2 separate regions of the Homo sapiens genome follow, and region 1 is linked to region 2. The links are contacts of gene promoters, found by promoter capture Hi-C in human tissues and cell types (Jung and others, 2019). All regions are on one chromosome and are shown on one strand. The core of a region is centred on a gene start or on the middle of the fragment in contact, and the rest is flanking DNA. Distances in the headings are between cores, read along the strand shown. Region 1 holds the start of RHOBTB2 (Rho related BTB domain containing 2). Region 2 holds the start of PHYHIP (phytanoyl-CoA 2-hydroxylase interacting protein).

The links. Contacts are between HindIII fragments. The study calls those that stand out against the background at their distance.
Region 1: the fragment with the promoter of RHOBTB2 here is called in contact with the fragment with the promoter of PHYHIP in region 2 in 1 of the 25 tissues and cell types used here (small bowel).

What each region holds. Positions count from the first base shown.
Region 1 is chr8:22,998,298-23,002,079 of GRCh38, forward strand. It overlaps RHOBTB2 (Rho related BTB domain containing 2), which reads left to right and starts at 1,251. Exons shown (of 10, transcript NM_015178.3): 1 at 1,251-1,808. It overlaps RHOBTB2-AS1 (RHOBTB2 antisense RNA 1), which reads right to left and starts at 1,508. Exons shown (of 2, transcript XR_007060857.1): 1 at 1,382-1,508. RefSeq lists silencers at 931-1,190, 1,411-1,580, 1,911-1,960. The HindIII fragment of the contact is 11,667 bases long and covers 1-2,626 here.
Region 2 is chr8:22,230,202-22,233,989 of GRCh38, forward strand. PHYHIP (phytanoyl-CoA 2-hydroxylase interacting protein) reads right to left here and starts at 1,898. Exons shown (of 5, transcript NM_014759.5): 1 at 1,595-1,898. RefSeq lists enhancers at 433-602, 1,528-2,275. The HindIII fragment of the contact is 22,356 bases long and covers 1-3,788 here.

The DNA.
Region 1 (3,782 bases), core at 1-2,500, 770 kb after region 2:
TTTGCATTTTCAGAGCACAAGATGGAGGAGTGGTGGAGGCGGTTCAGGTGGGTGGCAGGCTGGTCTGGGCTTTAAAAATTGTCCAGAGGTAACTGAGGAGATGAATCAAACCAGACTGAGCTGACTACTTAACACTAGCAGTCAAGATCATCCTGGCTGGGCATGGTGGCTCACGCCTGTAATCCTAGTACTTTGGGAGGCCAAGGCAGGCAGATCACCCGAGGTCAGGAGTTCGAGACCAGCCTGGCCAAGGTGGTGAAACCCCGTCTCTACCAAAAATACATAAATTAGCTGGGAATAGTGGCGTGCACTTGTAGTCCCAGCTACTCGGGAGGCTGAGGCAGAACTGCTTGAACCCAAGAGGCGGAGGTTGCAGTGAACCAAGATTGCACCACTGCACTCCAGCCTGGGCAACAGAGGGAGACTCAAAAAAAAAAAAAAAAAAAAAAGATTATCCTGATAAAACCAGCCTTGAATATGGAAAGTGTCTTCTAGGGACCCCTCAGGTTATAGATGTTATACCTTAGAATCTCTCTATTTTACAGAGGGGTAAATTGAGGCAGAAAACCCAAAGAAGGCTTAGGGACGATTTTCGAGGCTACTCACTTCATGGTGTTTCTTTCAGAGATTAGCAGCTATTACTGAACTCCAGGAGGCAACAGGAGGGGGATGGGATGGAGGTGGGGACCCGCTGAAGAAGGCCTAGGTGGGAGACAGGTAACGTGGTACAGGTACCCACCCCACAACTCATTAAGGGCCATGGAGGGAGGAAGGCTCTCAAGTGCCACGAAAATTCCCAAAGCAGCAGAGGGCTTGTATGGAAACGCCGGTTATTCGTCCCTACCCGGCCCCCGCCCCCCGCCCCCCCGACTGCCCCTGCCGTCGCCTCCCCGTGGGCAAGTGGTGGGGGCCTGGGCTTACAACCACACGTTCTCCTCCAACTAGCATCCCTTCCAGGGTGCACTAGGATGCCTCTCAGAGGTTCTCCCCCGCCTCCCGAAGGAAAGGGGAAAACCCCGTGGGCGTCCGGAGAGCCTTTGCGCCTCGCCAGGTGGAGGGACCGGCGCCACCCAGACCCGCGAGCCGAGACCCTCCCCGCGGCGTCGCTGCGGGAGGGGCGGAAGAGCGCGGGCGGTGGGCGGGAGCGGTGCTGCGAGGCGGGATCTGCGGGGCGTCCAATCCCCTTCTTCCCCCGCCCGCCCCCTCCCCGCCCCCCGAACGCTTTCCACCAACTGCGCGCGGCAGTGGGCGGGGCCCGTCACGGCTGTCGTCTTGGGTGCGATTTTTTTCTCCTCCTTTTTTTACCCTCCCGTTTTTTTCTTTTCTTTTTTTTTTCCCTATCCTTTTTTTGTGAATGAAAAAAGGAGGTCGCGAGCGGTACCTGGGACTGCAGCGCCAGGCGTCTTCGCGGCAGCGCCTTCGCCGCGGGCCCGGGCGCGTAGCGGCGGCGGCCTCGCCCCTCTCCCGGCGCCCCTGCGCGCCGCCCGCTGCCTCCGCAGCCCGGCTCCGCGCGCCGCCGTGACATTGGGCGCCTGGCGCGCGGGGCGATGCTGATCCGGAAGGGGCAGCGGCTGCAGTGCAGCGCGCGCGTCCGCTCCTGGGCCCACGTCCGGCCTGGGCTGCCCTGCCGGAGTTTCTGAGTGGCCGCGAGCTGGCCGGGAGGCTGGAGCCCAGCAGCAGCGCGGCGGCGCCGGCGTCGTCCCAACTTGCAGGCGCGGAGGGACCCCTGACATTTCACTAAAATGAGCGTGCTCAGCAGGAAGAGATGTGTTCCTCACGCTAGAAGCCACCCCGTCACATGTAGTGGTGTAAGTAGATGGCTGCTTGCGGTTATGGCGGGGTGGCCAGCAGCCCTTGCAGACGCGCCGCTCCGCCCTCCCTGCCCTGCCGCGCCCCTCGCTACGTTCCCCGGGCCCCGCTAGTCCCTGGGCTCTGGCTTCGGCTGCTGGGTACAGCGGGGCTGGAGCCTAATCCTTTCCGGTGTTTCTAGGGAAAGGAAGATGACTTGATTGCTTCGGCCTGTCGTGCCCCTCCCCCTTCTCGATGTTTAAAAATTTTTAAATTTCTATTTTGTGTGTGTGCAGAGTAGCGTGTCAGAAAAAAGGAAAAACGGTCCAGAGTGGTGGGAGTGATTCTGTTAAGAAAACAAACACAAAACAACAGTGGAATTGGGGTGTTTTGCTGGCGGTTCCGGAGCTGGTTCTTTGAACTCAACTCCATTGCAGTCTATGTAACTGAGTTCTGTGAAACTACTGGGGAGATCTTTGGCGGTGTTTGGTGATGTGTCCACATTTTAGGTTTGAGGGGGCTTATCTGTGTTTAGGCTTGCATTTCTTTAATCTGACCATTCAGGGTCCCTTTGGGCCTTGCTTTCTGTTGGATCTGCACGGGGCTTCTTGCAATGCCAGCGACCCCCGTGGGAGCCTCCCCGAATTAGGAGTCCACTCTCTCTTTGTTCTTCTCCTTCCAATTCTCCATTCAATCCATCTCCCTTGATTTTACCTTCATTTTCAGGATTTTCCTCCCATTCCCATTTTGTAAGATGATGTGGGATACTGGTTGCTAGGAGACAAGCCAGGCTCCCAGGGAGATTCTGTTGTTTCCTTGACAACCAGACTAGGGCAGCCACAGATGAACAAGCCTCCTATCAGCTGTGGGAGGGAAAGGGGCCCTTTCTGAGCTCTGCAAAGAGTGTGTGTAGGGGTGTGGGGGTGGGACTGGGAGAGCACGAGGTTTGTAGCTAATTTCAGCACACCTTGGGTTTTGGCTTGCACCAAGTACAAAGAGCTGGGAGAGCGGTGGGCAGGAGGCTGTTTTTGGAGGGGCACAGGGATCATGGGACAGGGATGGAAGGAACACATGCCAGTGACTTTGCGATTGTCATGGAAGAGGAGTGAGTTGGGGGTTGTGATGCCCAGGGCTGGGTGGTGAGGAGGTCATAGTTTATGGAGGTTGATTGAGTGGGGATGAGGCAATTGTGAGGGAGAGTCTGGAGTCAGGGAAGAAGAGAGAGCCGGAGGGAGAGGGGAAGCTGAGAGGCTCACTGAATGGGCTGTATCACCATATATCAGCAATGAGTGGGCTGTATCACCATACATCAGCAATGATACAACATCAGCAACATCCTAGGGCAAAAATTATATTACTCTTGGCACACTCTCTCCAGGACAGGATCCTCCTTTAAGACAGGCCTGATTAGACTAAGAGTTCTAACACTTGAATTGGGCCAGTCTGTATCTTAAAGACAGATATAATTACACATATAGATATGCAATCTAGCATTATATAATACCACATTACATAAGAAGACAAATACCTCCTTTCAGCCCAGCCTCTCTTGGCACAAATTAACCACGGTTCAGGAGACTCTTCCAATGTCTTCATACCCATTTCCCAGAGGGGGAGACTGATGCCCAGAAAATATAAGTGACTTGCCTCTTCCTAGATAGGACAGTGAAGTTTGCCAGTCAGGCAGTTGGGACAGGGTAGAAAGGGTGAGATGATACAAACAGAGAGGCAGCTGAAGGACAAGGGGACTGCTGAAGGGGCTGGGGAATGGATGGAAGGGGTTGCGCAACCCAGAAGGTCTGATGTCTAAACTCATGGCACAGTATTTGTCAATTTCCACTTGTTGATTGGCTGACCACTGCTTAACTCTAGAGGTGACATAGCACAGGTGGGCAGCAGTGTTTTCATCACAAAGTAGCTGAACTTGGCCCAGCACTGCTCTGCTGGTGTTCTGGCATTATTCTCACTGTCAAGGTGCTCCTGAATTTGAGAAC
Region 2 (3,788 bases), core at 648-3,147:
CACACACACACACGCACACACACACACGAACACAGACACACTCCTACCCAAGAGGCCCTGAGCGGCACCCACCCACACGCTCGGAGGCAGCCCACACTCGTCCCATGAGTAGGCACCTATTCCTGCCTCTCCTTGGAGTCCTCCTAGAAATAGGGGCAGCTGTGTTTGGCGGTAGGGGTCTCCAGGACCTGGGTGTCTGCTTGTCCCTCCCTCCCTACGGTTCTGGGAAAGCTGAGATGACATCCCCCCGCTAGCTTGGGAGGGTGGCAGTGAGTGAGCTGGGGTGGACAGAGGGGTGGGTGTGAACCCAAGTTCTCTACACCCAGAAGACTGGGGAAGGGCAGGGTGTGAGGGACAGGTTGAGGCAACACCCGAGAAACACCCACACTCCTGTGTGGATCCACCCCAAGACAGGCATGTACACACCCACACACAGGCAGGCACGCACGCGCATACACACATGCGCCAAGAGTGCCCACCCACCCGCGTCCCACACCTCCGCAGATGTCCTCACTCCCACACACCCATCTCCACATTCAGGTGCCTGCTGCCACCTTCCACATTCTAAGAATGCCCCACAGTTTTCCCTCTTCAATCTGTCACCTCCATGCACACCCAGACATGTTCATGTCCACAGGCTCACGCACACACACGTCCACGCACACCGCCTCACAAGCCATATGTGGGGAAAAGAGGATGCCACAGGCACCAACATGCATGTGTGCCACCTCCACAAGAAGGCACGCAACCCACACGCCTGCCGGCACACACATGTGTGTTCATACACACAGCAGCCCCCGCCCGAAGTCTGGTATTCTCTCTCGAATCATCTCCAGGCTCAAAGACAGACTTTGAAAATGTGTTTGCCTCTGGCCACACTCTGCCAGCCCTGAGCCTTCATGCCAACAGGTTTGTGCACCTACGTGGCTCTGCCCACAGACAATGGTTTCTGCCCCTTCTTCTCTTTACCCACTCCATCCTGCTCTGGGTCTCACCTCCCCATATAGAAAGCCCCTGTCTGCATACACTCCCACACACATGAAAAGGGACATGGTTACCCCTAAATATACTGCCTCATAGTGTCCCCACCCACGCACACCCACAGGCTACTCAAATAAGTCCCCCACACACATGTACCTCACGTGTGCCAGAAAGATATGTTTCTAGACATGCCTCACACCATTCAAAACCCACACATGAGCATGACTGCGGACAGACGGACCTATCTGCGCCAGCAAGCCTCCAGCCAACTCGCGAGCGCGCACACACACACGCCGCGCACACCGGTGCCCCTTCCCCATGCCCATTCAAACAGCCACCCTGCCACAGGGAATGCTTCCCCCACCCTGCTGTCCCTGTTGGCATCGCTGACTGCAGCAGAACGGTCACGGGGTGACTAACTGTGGTGCCCCAGAGACTGGATTCAGCCATTAACCACTTTGCCAAAGGCCTGGCCGGGGGGGGGGAGAGGGGACAAGGTCGTCAGGCCTGGCAGTCCAGGTGGGCACCCTGGGTGGTGGCAGGACCCTAGAGCCCCCAGATCCCGGCTACTCAGGATCAACAGCAGCAGGTTCCAGGGAGGAAGGGTACTCACCTGGCTCCACTGGGCTCTGCAGAGGAAAAGCTCGCAGGGAGGACAGGGAGAGACCTCTGCGTGGATGAGCTCCCCGGCAGGGGACAGCAGCCGGACGCCTGGGTCACGGGCAGTGGCGTGCGCTTGCTCCTCTCCCGGCTGCCAAGGAGGCTGCTTCCATGCCCCGCAGCCAGCTCCTGTCTGGCTGTGCAGCGCGTCGCTGCTGCCCCTGGTGAGACGATGTTCCCAGCTGAGCAGCGCAAGAAGAGAGGCAAGAGCGAAATCAAAGCAGCGTGGAGGAGAGAGAGGCAGAGAAGGGAGAAAGAACGAGAGAGCCAGACCGAATCTGCCTCCACCAATGGGATCAGCGGCTGCGCAGCGTCAGGTGATAATAAGCAGGCTTGGTCCCTGCTCGCCGGGCTGGTGGGAGGGGGAAAGGGCAGAGGGTCTCCCAGGGAGCTACACAGATGTCCTCAGGGACAGCAACACACGCCGCCTTTCCCCCATTCTTCCAGGACAAGCTGCCCTCAGAAGTCCCTCCAACACACCCCCTACTTGGAAATCTCTGACTTGAATGCAGCCCCCAAACTTTAGGATGCTGGGAGAGGGGTGGAGCTTAGCCAAGGGCTTGGGCCCCAAAGCAAAGACTCTGATTGGGGGAAGGGGAGGGAGGCTGTAGAGGGGAAAGGTCCAGATGGGGGGTGTGAAGCTGGGGTGGCTGTCTTCAGTCCGGAGCCTCTCCTTGGGGCCTTTTGGTGAACTGTGGTTCCATTTTCTTACCAACTCTAGAGAGAGATGGCAGACCTGCAGCTCAGGGATCCCTGTGGGTCTGGCAAGAACCCTCTGGCAGCTTGGGGGTCCACAGGAAAAGGGGCTGGGAGAGAGGCTGTGGCACAGTGCAGGGTGCACAGGGGTAAGAAAATGGGGGTGGGAGAACACACCAAGCTCTGAGTGTCCTCAGCCCACCCCACTCTCTGAGCACAAAGGAAGCCGGCCCTGGGCATCTTGGGGAGAGAATGTAATTCTGCTCTCACGGCAGCAGGAGGCTGTTCTGCCATCAAGAAGCAGACTCCGTGGAGGCCATCGGGAAGAACATCCAAGGAAATGTGAGTCCAGCAGCAAGCAGGGACAGAGGGTTGCGCAGTGGTGAAAAGCACAGGCTCACAGTCAGATGGATGTGCTGAGAATCCCTGCTCTACTGCTACCCAGCTGGGGGACCTTGGACAAGCCACTCAACCTCTCTTCATCTGTCAAGTGGGATCACACAGGTTTATTGTCATCATGGAATGAAATAATTAGGTAAATCGCCCAGCCCTGGGCCTGGCACATCAGAAGTGCCAGTCACATGTCAGAACTGTTCTTGTTCCCATCATATCGACAGCATCTTCCTGCAAGGAGCCCACAGTCCTCTACGGGAGAGAAGATGGCCATTTAGAGGATGCAATTAGAGAATGAGGAGCACACAACTAAATCGTAGGGCACAGATACTCATTCAGAGAAAGAACAATGGGCGGCTCCAGGGCACGTGCAGGGTGCAGGCCAGAGGAGGCTGTGGAAGCAGGAGTGCGGCTGGGGTGGGGAGGATTGGCACGGGGGCAGCTGACACCAGGCAGGCCCAGGGTGAGGTCTTGGTGAGCAGGAGAAGGTGTGAGCTGAGCCTAAGAAACACTCACCAAGAGGGAGTTGAGGCGGCAGGCCTCAGTGCAAAAGTCAGAGGAGGTAACAGCAGCAGAAAGTGAGAGTTCACAGAATGCAAAGACAAGCAGAAGCCAACCCTGCCTGAAACGGCTGTGAGAACCTCAGTGAGCCTGGCCAGGTCCTGAACTGCCGAATGTGGGGTGGTGCGTGGCACTGAGGCAGGACTAAGCACCCCCTTGGCCAAGCATGACTACGTCCTGCTCCGACATACCCACGCCGAGCTGGTGAGCTCAGAAGAGATGCAAAACGTAACCTCCTGGTGATGGCCAGCACATGACATCTGGACTACAATTCTGTCCCAGGCCGGGCGCAGTGGCTCACAAGAATCCGAACACTTTGGGAGACTGAGGCAGGCAGATCACCTGAGATCAGGAGTTCGAGACCAGCCTAGCTAACATGGCGAAACCCCATCTCTACTAAAAATATAAAAATTAGCTGGGTGTGGTGGTGGGCGCCTGTAATCCCAGCTACTTGGGAGGCTGAGGCACAAGAATCGCTTGAACCCGGGAGGTGGAGG